Regions from separate parts of the Homo sapiens genome. Here all the other regions are linked to region 1. Evidence: promoter capture Hi-C in 16 types of primary human blood cells and fetal thymus (Javierre and others, 2016). All regions are on one chromosome and are shown on one strand. Each heading gives the region's core, a stretch centred on a gene start or on the middle of the fragment in contact. The rest is flanking DNA. Distances are from core to core; before and after follow the strand shown.

Region 1 (5,091 bases), core at 2,367-4,866:
CTTCCAAAGTGCTGGGATTACAGGTGTGAGCCACCGTGCTCAGCAAGAAAGGTAATACTTCTTTTTATTCAAAGTAAAATACTTGTGCGTCCATCCATCCATCCATCCGTATGCATGCAATACAAAAGAGATGTGTACAGAATTTTTTGTGTGTTGTTTTGTGTTGAGACGGTCTCGCTCTGTCGCCAGGCGGGAGTGCAGTGGCACCATCTAGGCTTACTGCAGCCTCCGTCTCCTGGGTTTAAGCCATTCTCCTGCCTCAGCTTCCTCAGTAGCTGGGACTACAGGCACGTACCACCATGCCCAGCTAATTTTTGTATTTTTTATTAGAGACAGGGTTTCGCCATTTTGGCCAGGCTGATCTTGAACTCCTGGCCTCAAGTGATACAACAGCCTCGGCCTCCCAACATGCTGGGATTGATTCCAGGCGTGAGCCACTGCACCTGGCCTCATTTTGCTTTCTTAAATACTTGGAATTCCCTGCACCAAGAAGATGAAAAAGTGAAAAACTCATGGATGGGAAATTTCTTTTTGTTTTTTGTTTTTTTTTTGAGACGGAGTCTCTGCTCACTGCAAGCTCCGCCTCCCGGGCTCACGCCATTCTCCTGCCTCAGGCTCCGGAGTAGCTGGGACTACAGGCGCCCGCCACCACGCCCGAGAATTTTTTGTATTTTTAGTGGAGACGAGGTTTCACCATGTTAGCCAAGATGGTCTCGATCTCCTTGCCTCGTGATCCGCCCGCCTCGGCCTCCCAAAGTGCTGGGATTACAGGCGTGAGCCACCGCGCCCGGCCGGGGAATTTCAAACTTACTGATACCTTGTGTTTTCCTCCCAGGGACAGGTACAAGAGGGTGTGACTGTGGGAAGGGACACACTAACAATAGGCAAGGGGCCCAGGTTGTTTCTTCTGTGAAGGTACCGGTCTGTGGCCTGTTAGGAACCGGCAGCACAGCAGGAGGTGAGCGGCTGGTGAGCCATTATTGCCTGAGCTCCGCCTCCTGTCAGATCAGCGGCAGCATTAGATTCTCATAGGAGCAGGAATCCTATCGTGAACTGCGCATGTGAGGGATCTAGGTTGCGTGCTCTGTATGGGAATCTAATGCCTGATCATGTGAGGTGGAACAGTTTCATCTTCCCCACCCCTGGTCCGTGGAAAAATTGTCTTCCATGAAACCATGAAACCGGTCCCTGGTCCCAGAAAGGTTGGGGTCTGCTGCCCTAATTCATGCACTAGAGTTTCATATGCTGACATGATCTCTGTGATCATAAATATGAATTAGATTAAATTTATCTTTGACTCCAGTACAATTTCCTCTTTTCTCTCTTTTTGGTAACTCCCAATTCAGGTGCATCTGCAATGCATTCTCACAATTCATTTCAATTTAGTAAATGATGGCTGAGTGTCTCCCCATTCAAGGCACTGTGTTAGACACTGGGACAGAAAACTAAATAAGACTTGATCCTGCAGCAGAAGAGACAGCCAGGCAGGTATCTAGAATTCAGTGTGTTGAATATGACAGTGTAAGTGCCTATGCTGCCACAGCCTCCTTCTGAGCAAACAGCCGGTTGGTTCCTTATGCAAAGGTCATCCAACGTAGAAACAAATATGCTGAATCTCCTGAGGAGACAGTGATTAATTTAGGCTAGAGGTCAGTGTGGGACCAATCAAGGTGACGTTGGAATTAATTTGGACTTGAGGAGCGTACAGTTTCATAAGGCAGAGAAACATATACTACAAAGAATGAGGTATATTTGTGAGGATTTGGAGCTGTGCCATTCCTTAGAGTATTAAAGTCATGAAAAAAAGGCTGGGCGCAGTGGCTCACGCCTGTAATCCCAGTACTTTGGGAGACCAAGGCGATCACAAGGTCAGAAGTTCGAGACCAGCCCGACCAATATGATGAAATCCTGTCTCTACTAAAAACACACAAAAAAATAGCCAGCATGGTGGAATGCGCCTGTAATCCCAGCTACTTGGGAGGCTGAGACAGAAGAATCCTTTGAATCCGGGAGGCAGAGGTTGCAGTGAGCAGAGATTGCGCCATTGCACTCCAGCCTGGGCAACAAGAGCGAAACTCTGTTTCAAAAAAAAAAAAAAAAGACTATGATTATCATGCATGGGGTTAGGGATGGGGGTGCAGGAGATGAGGTAAATTGGAGGTAGATTGGGGTCGGATTGGGAGGTGAATTTCTGCCTATTCTGATGAAGAGTCATCAGTGCTTCGCAGGCATGGCAGTGGCATTACAGATGTGTTTTGGAAGAAAATTCAGGAACAGGGAAGGGTTGTAGTTTGTAGCTGTCAGATGCAATGAGGCAGATTAAAAGCTAGACAATTTAGGCCAGTCGCGGTGGCTCATGCCTGTAATCCCAGCACTTCAGGAGGCTGAGGTGGTCAGAGTGCTTGAGTTCTGGAGTTCAAAATTAGCCTGGGCAACATTGTGAAACCCTGTCTCTACTAAAAACATACAAAAATCAGCTAGGCATAGTGGTGCACACCTATAGTCCTAGCTACTCGGGAGGCTGAGGTGGGAGGACCACTTGAGCCTGGGAGGCAGAGGTTGCAGTGAGCCGAGATCACGCCACTGCACTCCAGCCTGGATGACAGAGCGAGACCCTGTCTCAAAAAAAAAAAAAAAAAAAGAAAGAAAGAAAAAAAAAGAATGACCTTCTCTTTTAAGGCTGAACTCTATTCCATTGTATGTATGTTCCACATTGTGTTTCTCCATTCGTCTATCAGTGGACACTTAAGTTGCTTCCACAGTTTAGTTGTTAGAAATGTGGAAGTACAAGTATCTGTTTGAGTCCCTGTATTAGTCCGTTTTCACACTGCTATAAAGATACTGCCTGATATATTACCTGAGACTGGGCAATCTATAAACAAAAGAGGCTTAATTGACTCGCAGTTCCCCATGGCTGGGGAAGCCTCAGGAAACTTATGGTCATAGTGGAAGGCAAAGGGGAAGCAGGCACCTTCTTCACAAGGCGGCAGGAGAGAGTGTGAGTGAAGGGAAAGCCCCTTATAATACCATCGAATCTTGTGAGAACTTACTGTCATGAGAGCAACATGGGGGAAACCAGTTCCATGATCCAATCACCTCCTACCAGGTCCCTCCCTGGACTTGTGGGGATTACAATTCAAGGTGAGATTTGGGTGGGGACCCAGAGCCATGCCATATCAGTGCCTGCTTTCATTTCTTTTGGGAACATACTCTGAAGCATAATTGCTAGATCATATGGTAATTTTAGGGTTAAGTTTTTGAGGAACGTCATTACTGTTTTCTACAACAATGGCGCCATTTTACATTCCCACCAGCAATGTACAAGGATTCCAATTTCCCAACATCCTCACCAGTTGTTATTTTCTGTTCTGTTTATTTGGATATTAGCCATCCTAATGAGTGACAGTGAAATTTTACTTACATGAAGGATCTCATTCTCCACTGATACCCACGAAAACAAAGGGGACCATTCTGCACTTGGCTGAAGTGAGCATTTTCTCATCAGGAGAGGAGTAGCCCAGGGGATGTCCACTGGAGATAGGGTGGGCGCCCTCCACTCCATCTTCCCTTCTTGGAAACTTGGAGAATTTCTTGTGTTATTCTTGGGACTGTGATGTGTATAAATAGAATGGGATGAGGGAAAAAGAAAAGGTTGAGAGCCAGTTCAGAAAGATCCTTGTAATATATTTTGTTGATCTTACTTTTTCAAACTTGTACAGCTTGATGGCTGTGAGCAAATATTTCCACTAGGAATCTGTTGACATTTCCACCACTCTTCTCTTCTTTTTCTGTTCTGTTTTTTTTTTCTGCCTAGTCTTTCAGTGTCAATCTTGTCTTAATTTCAGCATGCATTCTGTCCTCATGCATAAATTAGGTATGGTTTTCTGCTCTTTATTCGAAATTGCCTATTTCTATTGTAAATTACACCAATCATAATTTCCAGTTTACCGCTTTTCTCCAGACATTTTTGCTTTTAATACAAATTCATAAATTAAAAGTCAACTACTCTCACTCCCAAAGATTAAAAAGATAAAAGCCTGTAATTTGGTGGACACCGATCATCAAATATGCATGTTACACTGAAGAACTGGCTTTGCAATTCTGCAGCTGTACTCTTGGGTTGGTGATGAAGAAGACAGTTATAGGGGATCCCGAGCTTTCAGCATCTCAGTAGTGCCAGTACATCTGGAATCCAAGACAAAATGTGAATGCAGGCATCATGAAGCAGAATTCGAGCTGTGCGGTAATCAGCCAGATGATCTGCAACACACAGATGCTAGCTTTTTTTTAGATAACCACCAAAATAGAAACACAAATTTTACACTCAAAGAACACTCAGGGCCCTTAGTGGAGAAATAGCTGCATCGTGCCAGTTATGAATTCTGTTGTTTTTGGTGGTCACAATTTATCATAGCCCCACTTAACCATGATTTCACTTTCCATGGTTTCAGTTACCTTCCGTTAACTAAGGTCCAAAAATATTAAATGGAAAATTCCAGAAATAAGCAATTCATAAGCTTTAAGTTGCACCTGCCATTCTGAGTAGTGTGATGAAGCCTTGCACCTGCGGTGGGATTCCTCCCTTTGTCCAGCATCTCCATGCCATAGATGTCCCCACTCATGAGTCACATCGGAGCCCTCTCAGTTACCACATCGGCTGTCTCTGTATTGCAGTGCTTGGGTTCAAGTCATTCTTATTTCACTTCATGATGGCCCCATAGCGCAAGAATACTGATGCTGACCGGGCGTAGTGGCTCACACCTGTAATCCCAGAACTCTGGGAGGCCGAGGTGGGTGGATCACCTGAGGACAGGAGTTCAAGACAAGCCTGGCCAACGTGGTGAAATCCCATCTCTACTAAAAATAGAAAAATTAGCCAGGGATGGTGGTGCATACCTGTAATCCCAGCTATTTGGGAGGCTGAGGTAGGAGAATCCCTTGAGCCCAGAAGGCAGAGGTTGCTGTGAGCTGAGATCGTGCCACTGCACTCCAGCCCGGGCGATAGAGCGAGACTCTGTGTCAAAACAAAACAAAACAAAAAAATTAGCCAGGCATGGTGGCATGCGCCTGTAATCCTAGCTTTGCGGGAGG
Region 2 (5,092 bases), core at 1,561-4,060, 270 kb before region 1:
CACATGGCTATGCCTGCAAGGGAGGCTGGGAAATGGCGTTCAGCTGGGCAACCATGTGCCTAGCTACAGTCTGCTATTATGAAAGGAGAAGACAGATGTTGGGGAACACACAGCAGTCTCTCTCACAAGGGGGTATAAAGAGAGAAGATCGAGGAGGGGAGCCAGGCACGGTGGCTCAGGCCTGTAACAATCCTCCCAGCTTGCAGCCAGGAGTTAGAGACTGTAGTGAGCTATGATGGCACTACTGCCCTCCAGCCTGGACAACAGAGCAAGACCCTATCTCTAAAAAACAGAGGAGGGAATTAGAGAGTGAGAACAGAGGTGAGAATGGAGAAGAAGAGTTAATTATAAGTAGAAGAAAAAACTCCAGTTGCTGAGGCAAAGCCCTGGGGTTGGATTCCAATCAGTGCCAACAGCATCATAGCAGTTGCTGAGTTGTTATTCTGGGGTTTAGGAAGAGGATGTCTGTGACTACAGTAAGAAAGGGGGGCCTATTCCATCTCCCGGGCCTTACCAGCCTCCACTTCAGGCTCATCTTGTTTCTGTCATGATTTTGTGCTTCCGACTCTTAAAATTGTTCTGCATTTTGTTCCCTTTTATTTGCCCACTGTCTTTAAACAACTCGACCAGACAACTTGAACAAAAGCTATGACTGAACAGGGATCATGAAAAGTGGGGGTCCTCTACTTCCACTATGAATGGAAAAGTATAGCACGCTTCCTTCCCTTTGCATAGTGGTCGTTTTTCAAAAGGTTCTTGCAGATGTTGTCTCAATTCCTTCTGTAACGAAACTGCAAGGCAGGGACAGACACTGTTAATAATAAGTAGTCAGGGTGCAGCCTCTGGGGTCAGACTGCCTGATTGAAATCTCAGCTCTGCCATTTATGAGCTGTGTGATCTTGGGGAACTCAACCCCTCTGAGCCTCATTTTTCTCAACTATAAAATGGGATACTAACAATATCTACTTGGAAAGATTGTTTAGTATCTATTTCTATGAGTTTTGTGTATTAAATGAAACAATTCTGTTTGGCACATGGCAAGCACTTTACAGGTAGGAAAACTGAGGTTCAACTAAAGTGATTTGCTTAAAGATTCAGAATCTGGTTTTCTAACTTCCAATTCTACTCTACCTCAAAGTATAGGTTTTGTGGAGCTCAAAGCAGGTAAGCGGCTTGTGGCATTAAATAAAAATTAATGTAAAATTATGAAACAGAACAAAATATATAGATCAGAGAAAAGAAACCCAAGGAATGGCGATGTAACACAGAAAAGAGCCAGGAAGGTAATGAGAGAAAAAGAATAGAGCTAGGCAGAGGGGAATCATGGCTGCCAGAAGCATGAAGAGCCTGAAGCTGTCATTTTCCAGAAAAGGAAACTGAGGCATGGGGCAGTCACATGCAACTCCAGCATACAGGGATGCAGCAATGTGGAAGGAAATGCATCCCCAGAATGCCAGAGAACTTTCTCATTCTGGTGATTCAGCCTCCCAAGTTCCTGGGGAAATTCTCTGGAAGGACTTTGGCATCTTCCCACTGGCTGCCCATCACTGCAGTCAGATAAGCACCACCAGTTCAGCGAGGAAAGCACACATCACAATGTGTTCTTCTTGCTTTTGTTTTATTTTAATCCCTCTAGGAACAGGAGACAGATAACCTTTCAATAATCTGAAATTCCAATAAAAAGAAACTCTCTCTGAAAAGTACACAGTGTTTGGGAAGGCTTTAGTATTTAGTAGACTTTAAAGATTTTCATCAGCCCTCCAATTTCTCTGTGTGCTTTGGAGGCATTGAGGGGAGTAATATTAGCTGAATAAAAGGTCACCACCACAAGAGTTGTTTTTAGCTAAATAAATTTGACATGGCAGGGTTGAAAGCTCTAGATAGATATTAAATTGCTGGTCATACTTGTGAGCAGGTGCAACTCTCATTTCCCACACCCCCAGGCAGCAGGGGAAGCTCTTTCACTCTATGATGGCTTGTAAATTTTTTTCCTCTCTGTTTTTACTCTTTTTCTACATTCTTGTCCTCATTTCCTCTATGATGCATTTCAAGCTTCACCTGGCTTTGCAACTATAAACATTTCCACTTAAATGCTGTGTTGCTGGTTCCCAAACTTGAATAGAATGATCTCAGGGCCTTTGGAGACACTGATTGCTGGGCCCCAGCCCCAGATTTTCTGATGCAAGACGTCTGCATGGGAACTGAGAACCAGTGTTTCTAACAAGCTCCCAGGTGATGCTGTTGCGCATAGTCCAGGAGCCACACTAGGAGAATGGCTGGCTTAGATCACCCTCCCTTGGCTGCACCCTGGACCCTGTCCTAGCCAAGGCCAGCAAATCACTCTGCACTTTTGTCTTCCTGTGGTTCCAAGGAGACTTTCCTCGTCAATATTGTAGCACTGCATTCAAGACCCAAAGATGCACCAATGAAGCTTCCATGGGGGTGCTGTGGAAGTCAGCTTGAGAGCTGAGCAATGCCAGGGGCACTAAGTCTTGGGCATCTCATCCCAAAGCCATCCCGGAAAGCACCCTGCTTGTTCTTTACTCCCAAGGCAGGTGTAGATTCCACGTTAGTCCTTAGGTTTGCGATATCTCTGGCTGGCCCCCAGGGTTGGCTTTGATCAGAGGCCCTGGAACCTGGAGCTGAGCAGTTCTCCCAGCCATCCACTGACCCAGGAATGCCAGAGACCTCCACACGGATCTCCCTCACCAGAGAGCTAGCACTGTCCCTTAGCTGACGGTGGGAGGATCCAGCAGGACATTTGTCTGATGCATTGGGTCTTAAGGATCCAGGAATTTTGAAGTCCAGTCTGACCAGCAGTCCTTACCTTAGAAATTGAAAAATAAATAAAACATAAGATTCATTTCAAGTTCCTCAGAAAGAAAGCAGTGAGAATCACTGAAAAAAAAAATACTGTTTTCCATTGAAAATGATAGATTAGATTAGAAATATTAGATGTATTTCTTAAAGGATTAAGTGAAAACCTTACTTGGGCATTCTAAATTCCTTAGTAGGCTGGTCATTTAAAAGGAAGCAATGAAGGCTCTTTGACTCTTCTACTTCACAGTCTGACAAAATCTGCAGTTTTCCTAGGAGGCTTCCGGTGTGTTCAAGAAGGCAGCGGGGCCGACACTGGTCTCTTACGTGCTGCCCTCTCGTGGTCACCCAAACACATGCAGCTAAAGCTTTCTTCCGATGCCGCTCATCTATTTGTTCAAATCCACAGGAACAGAGCCCAGGATAAAGGCGGACAGGTGATGGAGGTTGGCAACAGCACAGCTGACTCCACGGGTCTGAAACTATTGCTATGGCTGGCACTTCGTCAATGTGTGGGGTTCAGAGGAGGTCAAAAAAAATCATAGAGGCAAGAAACAGTGATTATTCTTTAGACTTTGTTAAGAGGAAATTTGGAAAGAAAACGTGTGTGTGTGTGTGTGTGTGTGTGTGTGTGTGTGTGTGTGTGTGTGTGTGTGTTATGCATATGAACACAGAGGTGGAGAGGGAGACAAACAGAGGAGAGATAATCTGATAGAGAGATTTTGTTCCAGTGCACTGCCCACGTGGTCTGGTAGGAAGAGCAGGTGGGTGAACTCGGGCAGGAGACAACACAGTTGCCTCACTACAAAATGATGTCCTTGAATAGATTATCTCTAAAGTCCCTTCCCATCCCAATTACGATTCTACTTAAAACAAAACAGAAAAGAAACCCCTTTCTTTCCCCGTGCTCATTTCACGCACCCGAGCTGATGGTCCTGGCTGCCCTTCTGCCTGCCTGCTCTCTTGCTTCTCTTTCCCTGTTTTCTAACAAAGAACTCCTTATGCCGTCACTTTGGCTTACATACATGCTGCCTTCTTTTTGAATCCATGGGATTTTCAATATGATGTACTAAAAGTTTCATTTTTCTTTTTGAGTCTCAGTCAAGGGTATTCCAATTGTCTTGTCTCTGAATTTTTTTTCCTTCTTTTCATGATCCCCTAAAACTTTCATGTGTATCTTACCCTGTTCTTTGTTGCTGGGAAAGATAAGTTCCTGGCCGAAAGCTGTCAGTGTCGGTCTTCAGCACAGAGCCTGTCTTTTAGGTGGGAAATACACCACGGTTATTCATTCCATTAATCTGCATATTGGCTTAGAGCGGCGATTCTCAAAGTGTGATCTGGGTACCCTCCAGGAGTTCCTGAAAGACTTCCAGGGAATCCATAAGGTCTACACTATTTTCAGAATAAAACCAAGATGCTTGCTTTTTTCCCTTCTCATTCCTTTATGAGTGAGTGTATGCTGGAGTTTTCCAGAAGCTACATGATATGTGATACTGCAACAGACTGACAGCAGTGGCGGATGTAAGATCAGCTATGTCTTCTATTTAGCCAGCTATTAAAGAGATTTCTGAAACTGTAGCACAATGACAGTCTTCTCGCTAGCATTTTTTGTTTTGAAAATATATGCCCTACCCTGAGCTTAAAAAAAAAATAAAAAAGAGGCCAGGCGCAGTGGGTCATACCTGTAATCCCAGCACTTTTGGGAGGCTGAGGCGGGCTGATCACCTGAGATCAGGAGTTCAAGACCAACCTGGCCAACATGGCAAAACCCTGTCTCCACTAAAAATATAAAAATTAGCCGGGTGTGGTGGCTCACACCTGTAATCCCAGCACTTTAGGAGGCCAAGGTGGGCAGATCACAAGGTCAGGAGTTTGAGACCAGCCTGACCAATATGGCGAAGCCCCGTCTCTACTAAAAATACAAAAACTAGCCAGGTGTGGTGGCACGTGACTGTAATCCCAGCTACTTGGGAGGCTGAAGCAGGAGAATTGCTTGAACCCAGGAGGTGGAGGTTGCAGTGAGCCGAGATTGCTCCACTGCACTCCAGCCTGGGCAATAGAGGGAGACTCTGTCTCAAAAAATATATATATATAAAAATTAGCTGGGCATGGTGGCATGTGCCTGTAATCCCAGCTACTCGGGAGGCTGAGACATGAGAATCGCTTGAACCCAGGAGATGGAGGTTGTAGTGAGCCAAGATTGCACCACTGCACTCCAGCCTGGGCAACAGAGCAAGACTCTGTCTCAAAATTAATAACTGGTATTTTCCATAAA
Region 3 (4,783 bases), core at 1,833-4,332, 320 kb after region 1:
AAGAATGAGATGAATTAGTTACCAACTGCGAAAGAGACTTTTAAAATGGTCACTGGTTCTCCCAAAGTGCCATGTCTAATTTAGCTCACAGGTGCACTGCAGAAAAGCAGGCCTCATGGCTTCTGTCTGCCTAACCAGCCTGAATCCCAACACGTCCTTTGTTTTTGCCATGCTCCCAGCAGATAACGCTGAATCCGAGCATTAATCCTTTAGCTGTCTTTTCCTGGGCCTCAGAAACAGCACTCCACTTGGGTGGGGAACCACGGAAGTAGGTGGCCAGCAGATCTGATCCTCATGGCTGGCTTTAGGGGGATGCTGAGTTTTTTTCTTTCCACAGCCCAAACTGGTTTCTAGGCTGCCAGGGCCCTCCATGGGCAAGTCACGTGCTGGAGGTGGGGAATGCCAGTGCTCACAGCCCGGCCCATGGAGCCCAAGAGGCAGGGGCAAGAGCACAGGAGGCAGGACCCAGGCATCTAGCAGGTGCAGACACACTGGTGGGGTGGCACTATGGGCCATGGGATAAAATGTCATCACTAGATTGCACGGGTAAGGTCCTGGCAGAGGTCCACTGCGTTGGAGCAAGTGCCCATAACCCTCACCCTAAGGAGACAGGAATGGAATTGGTGCGTGGTCAGGGCATGCAGATTCTGGAAAGGTCAAGAGGGAATCCACACTCTGGGCATCAGGGAAGTGCTTTACTTTCCACTAGACCTGAGAGAGGTTCAGGATGCAGGCTGAGACTGGGGGTAGAGTGAGAGAGGGTGGCTCTTTCCACTACAGAAGGGGATGGCAGCTCTTATCCTCCCTCACAGTGGAAAACAGTGGGATAGTCTATTCCCTTTGCCTCCCTGGCTCCCTAGCTACCCTCCCTACCCCTCCTGCTGGAAAGGCACATGCAAAAAAGGGTTCCATATGCTTGCAATGGGTGCCTATTGCTTTTTGCTGAACCAGAGTGGGAAGCTCAGGTAGCTGTTCTACTGTTTTGGTTTTGATATCCCCCACCTATCCCCACCATGGTTTAGTGGGTAGCAGTTAGGATGAGTCCAAGGACCACGTGTTCCAAATGTCTGCTTCGCCAGGCCATTGGTTCAGTGTCTACATAGAACTCAGGATTGTTTCCCGGGGTCTAACACTGACCACCCAGAAAACCTTCAGTCCTGAATTGAAAAACGATCTTTATGGAAATGAGAAATCATATGTCTGAAGTTTGGCTTTGAACTAAACACATGCCCCTTGAGCCCTGTGTTAGTCCATTTTCACACTGCCGATAAAGACATACCCAAGACTGGGTAATTTACAAAGAAAAAGAGGCTAATGGACTCATAGTCCCATGTGGCTGGGGAGGCCTCACAATCATGGTGGAAGGCGGAAGGCACGTCTTACATGGCAGCAGGCCACAGACAGAATGAGAGCCAAGGGAAAAGGAGAAGCCCCTTATGAAATCATCAAATCTCCTGAGACTTATTCACTACCATGAGAACAGTATGGGGGAAACTGCCCCCATGATTCAATTATCTCCCACTGGGTCCCTCTCACCACACATGGGAATTATGGGAGCTACATTCAAGATGAGATTTGGGTGGGGACATGGCCAAACCATATCAAACCCTCTTGCTATTGGCATTGACTATCCCAGGCCGTGCCTACTTTTCTTTCCATCATGTAAGGGTTTCCACTTTCATTGAAGAACGGGGAGCCAGACCTAAGCCAAAGTCACCGTATTTCTGGGGAGATTGCTTACGGGACAAGCATCAGGCCTCAGATTTTCTCACAGAGTGGCCAGCTCCCTCCTTGTCATGGGGTGGGTGGGCCAGGCAGGCAGAGGACTTCATTTCCAGAGCCGAGAGGGCTTGGGTTGTCTGCTCACATGAGACTTGATTCCCCCTAACTGCCACCTTCCCCATGGTCCCTGCCTAAAGCTGGATGCGTATATGAAAGAGGCCTCGAGTGTTTATGCAGGAAGGAGAAGGAGGATGAGCTGTCATTACCCCTTCCCTGGGGCTAGATGGCCCAACTTCCTGAGGGGCCCTGAGTAACACAAACTCCCATCTTTGCTTTCTCTTCCTGTAGGTGTAGGAATGAAGCTAACTGACGTTGGCATAGCAACGCTGGCTAAAGGGTGAGTAGGAAAAAATGGAGTGTGCATCAATTAACACTGGGCTTACAGACACCTTCCAGGCAGACACTGTCAGGCTGAGGTGGGCAAAGTGAATTTCTTGTCCTAACTGTGGATGACGAATGTTCTTGGAATGAATTCATTTCTCTCACTTACATAAAATATTTATGGACTTTGTTCTCACAGGGGAGCACATTTGTTTCTTAACTTTGAAACAAATGAGAACTCTTGCAAACACATTTCAAGATTAATAACCAATAGGAGTACCACGGGGAGAAAATGCTGGCATTACTTGGATGCCTTTTAACTGGGAATATTCCGTTCTTTTACATTTAATATCTTCACTATTAAAAGCTTCTTTGAAAAAAAATTTTTTTTGCAATTGAATGCAGTGAATTCAATTTGTATATTTTAAATTAATTTTTCTCCAAAAAGTATTTTAGGCAGCTCACAGACCCCCATGATGATAATCATAGGAGGCAATGTCTCTGGCAGAGCTGTGATTAGTTACCTGTTTTTGATGATGGCTTTATTTTTCTAATACAGAGTGGTGCTTTGCTTAGTGTGAGGCACACACAGATGATGCTATGATCACATTTTACTGGGGCATCTTTTTAACAAGCTGCCCCTTCCCACTTCTTTACTTGACTGCCACTGAGGAGAAAGCCAGCCATTTGTTGTTCTTGGTGAAGATGCAATTCTGTGTTGGAACCACCATCGCCTTTGCCCACTCCTGCTCTTCCTACGTACTAAGACCATCTGTAAGGGGGAGGAAAAGAGAGCTCATGACTTTTGGAGGGGATGGCTTCTATTTCAAAATGTAGGTTTTATTAGTATGAGGTATCGTAAGGTCAACAGATCAGGAGATAGTTGCCATTGAAAAGCTAGTTTGTTACTTGCAGCTGCCAAGAGGGGGCACCAGGCCACCAGGGGCCATCTAAGAAGCAGCAGGGCCAGTTGGGAGGCAGAGGAAGTGAGGGGAAAATGCAGGCAAGAATATTATGGTTTATTCGGGAAGGAATAGGTGAGGGAGGATAAACAGTCCTAGGATTGGCTAATTTGACATTTTCCAGCAGTCTCTGGGACATAGGGCTGGCCCTAGTGTCTGGTACCTGCACTGGGGTGATTAGGGCAGGTGGACAGTGGCCCCAGTATGAGAGACCACAGAGGGGGTATTAGGGGTGTGGCTCTGGATTGGTTGGTTTGCATATATATGAAAGGCTCTCTGGAAGGTGATCATTTACTCTCTCTAGGAATATGGCAGCCCTGAGAGGAGTAAAGTCTCTCCAGGGCCAGTAAGGCACAAGATGTCAAAGCATCAGAAACACAGAAAATAAAGTGGTGGGATGAATCCAGCTTCCTTTCCCAAGGCTGAGAACAACTTATCCGTGGGAGCTTTCTGGTTACTTCAGACCATCAGTGTCAGCCACGATCCAACAAATATGCTAATTTTCAGCTTCAATAAAGGACAGAGAGAAGTAGAGGAATCTGAAAAAGTAGGAAGGGGATCGCTCTTTCTTTTAACCTCCAGGTCAGTAAGTCTGATTCATGAAGTTCTCGCCGATTGCACAAAGCTTCCAGTTGGGTTTTAGAACCAGAATGCGGTTTGGACCTTTTCCCTGGGATGGCTCAGTGATGATGAAGTTTTATGTTGGAACTGTCTCCAGGCTTCTCCCCTGTGCTCACCAGAGACCTGGCTGGCATACACTTCAGGGAATTGGGTATGTTCTTGGGCTTGTGAAGACAGCGCATTAGGAGGGATTATGATGTAGTGGGGAGGAAGGAACGAGGGATTTAGAGCGAGACCCAGTTCATACCCTGATGCTGCTGCTTCCATTTCTCCTGATAGTAGCCTCGCTTCTTGGCATCGTAGGAATTTGCCTAGCCTACCTGATGAGGGGGATGAACGTCTATTGCAGTTTCCCCATGATGGTACCATTTTATGCCTGATGTCCTCACATCCCATACGCTTTAGCATTGATCCTGAACAAGTGTACCCATTTAGAAGATAAATTATATGGTGCCCTATTTATGGAGGCTTCTGGACCCCAGAAGGATTTTCCAAACGGAGCCTTCCTTTCCAGGCTCCATGTGTTCTGCAGAACCTTGCAGATGCAAGCATCCGCCAGCCCTAGTTTGAATCCTGGCTTCTCGTCATACCAGCTGTGTGACTGTGGGCATGTGACTAAGTTCTTAAAGTCAGTGATGTACAGCATGGGGACACTCCGGCTTGCCCTGAGTATTCCCCCAGTTAATCTACACCTAGCCCCTGAAACTGGAAGTGAGCTAGATAAATATTAGTTTCCCTTCGCTCCTCATGTCTTAGCCTGACACCAGAGTAGGCAAATTTCGTGCTGTTATTTAGAACAACTCTCTACCAAAACAAAGAAGAAACCTGCCCAAGAAGTTTCAAAAATGAAGATGGTCATGATTATTGAAGACATCTTTTAAATTCAAGTCAACAGCTTCCAGGAACCCAGACCGACTGGGAGCTTCAAGTGGTACATTTTTTCCCCTCCTGATTTAAAAAGAAATCCAATCCTTTGGTTTTGTTCTCAGCTTTAATGTGACTTATCTGGCCCGGGACAGCTGCCCAAGACCCATTAGAAGCACTGACGGCTGGAGCCCAGTGCAGAATGCTGTCTATAAAGTATTACTTACTCATTG

The links. Contacts are between HindIII fragments. The CHiCAGO score rates a contact against its expected background, and 5 or more counts as called.
Region 2: a contact is called between a fragment that was not itself captured here and the fragment with the promoter of LINC01926 in region 1, in 8 of 17 cell types (naive CD4 T cells, total CD4 T cells, M2 macrophages and 5 more). The highest score is 8.5, in naive CD4 T cells.
Region 3: a fragment that was not itself captured here is called in contact with the fragment with the promoter of LINC01926 in region 1 in 4 of 17 cell types (activated CD4 T cells, non-activated CD4 T cells, naive CD4 T cells and 1 more); the score reaches 6.3 in activated CD4 T cells.

The regions. Positions count from the first base shown.
Region 1 is chr18:58,812,405-58,817,495 of GRCh38, reverse strand. LINC01926 (long intergenic non-protein coding RNA 1926) reads right to left here and starts at 3,616. Exons shown (of 3, transcript NR_146904.1): 1 at 3,422-3,616. The HindIII fragment of the contact is 11,966 bases long and covers 1-4,519 here.
Region 2 is chr18:59,082,426-59,087,517 of GRCh38, reverse strand. No RefSeq gene overlaps it. Among named protein-coding and RNA genes, the nearest start is that of SEC11C, 55 kb to the left of the region's middle. The HindIII fragment of the contact is 754 bases long and covers 2,434-3,187 here.
Region 3 is chr18:58,495,385-58,500,167 of GRCh38, reverse strand. ALPK2 (alpha kinase 2) reads left to right here. Exons shown (of 13, transcript NM_052947.4): 12 at 2,071-2,119. Among named protein-coding and RNA genes, the nearest start is that of MIR3591, 47 kb to the right of the region's middle. The HindIII fragment of the contact is 1,220 bases long and covers 2,473-3,692 here.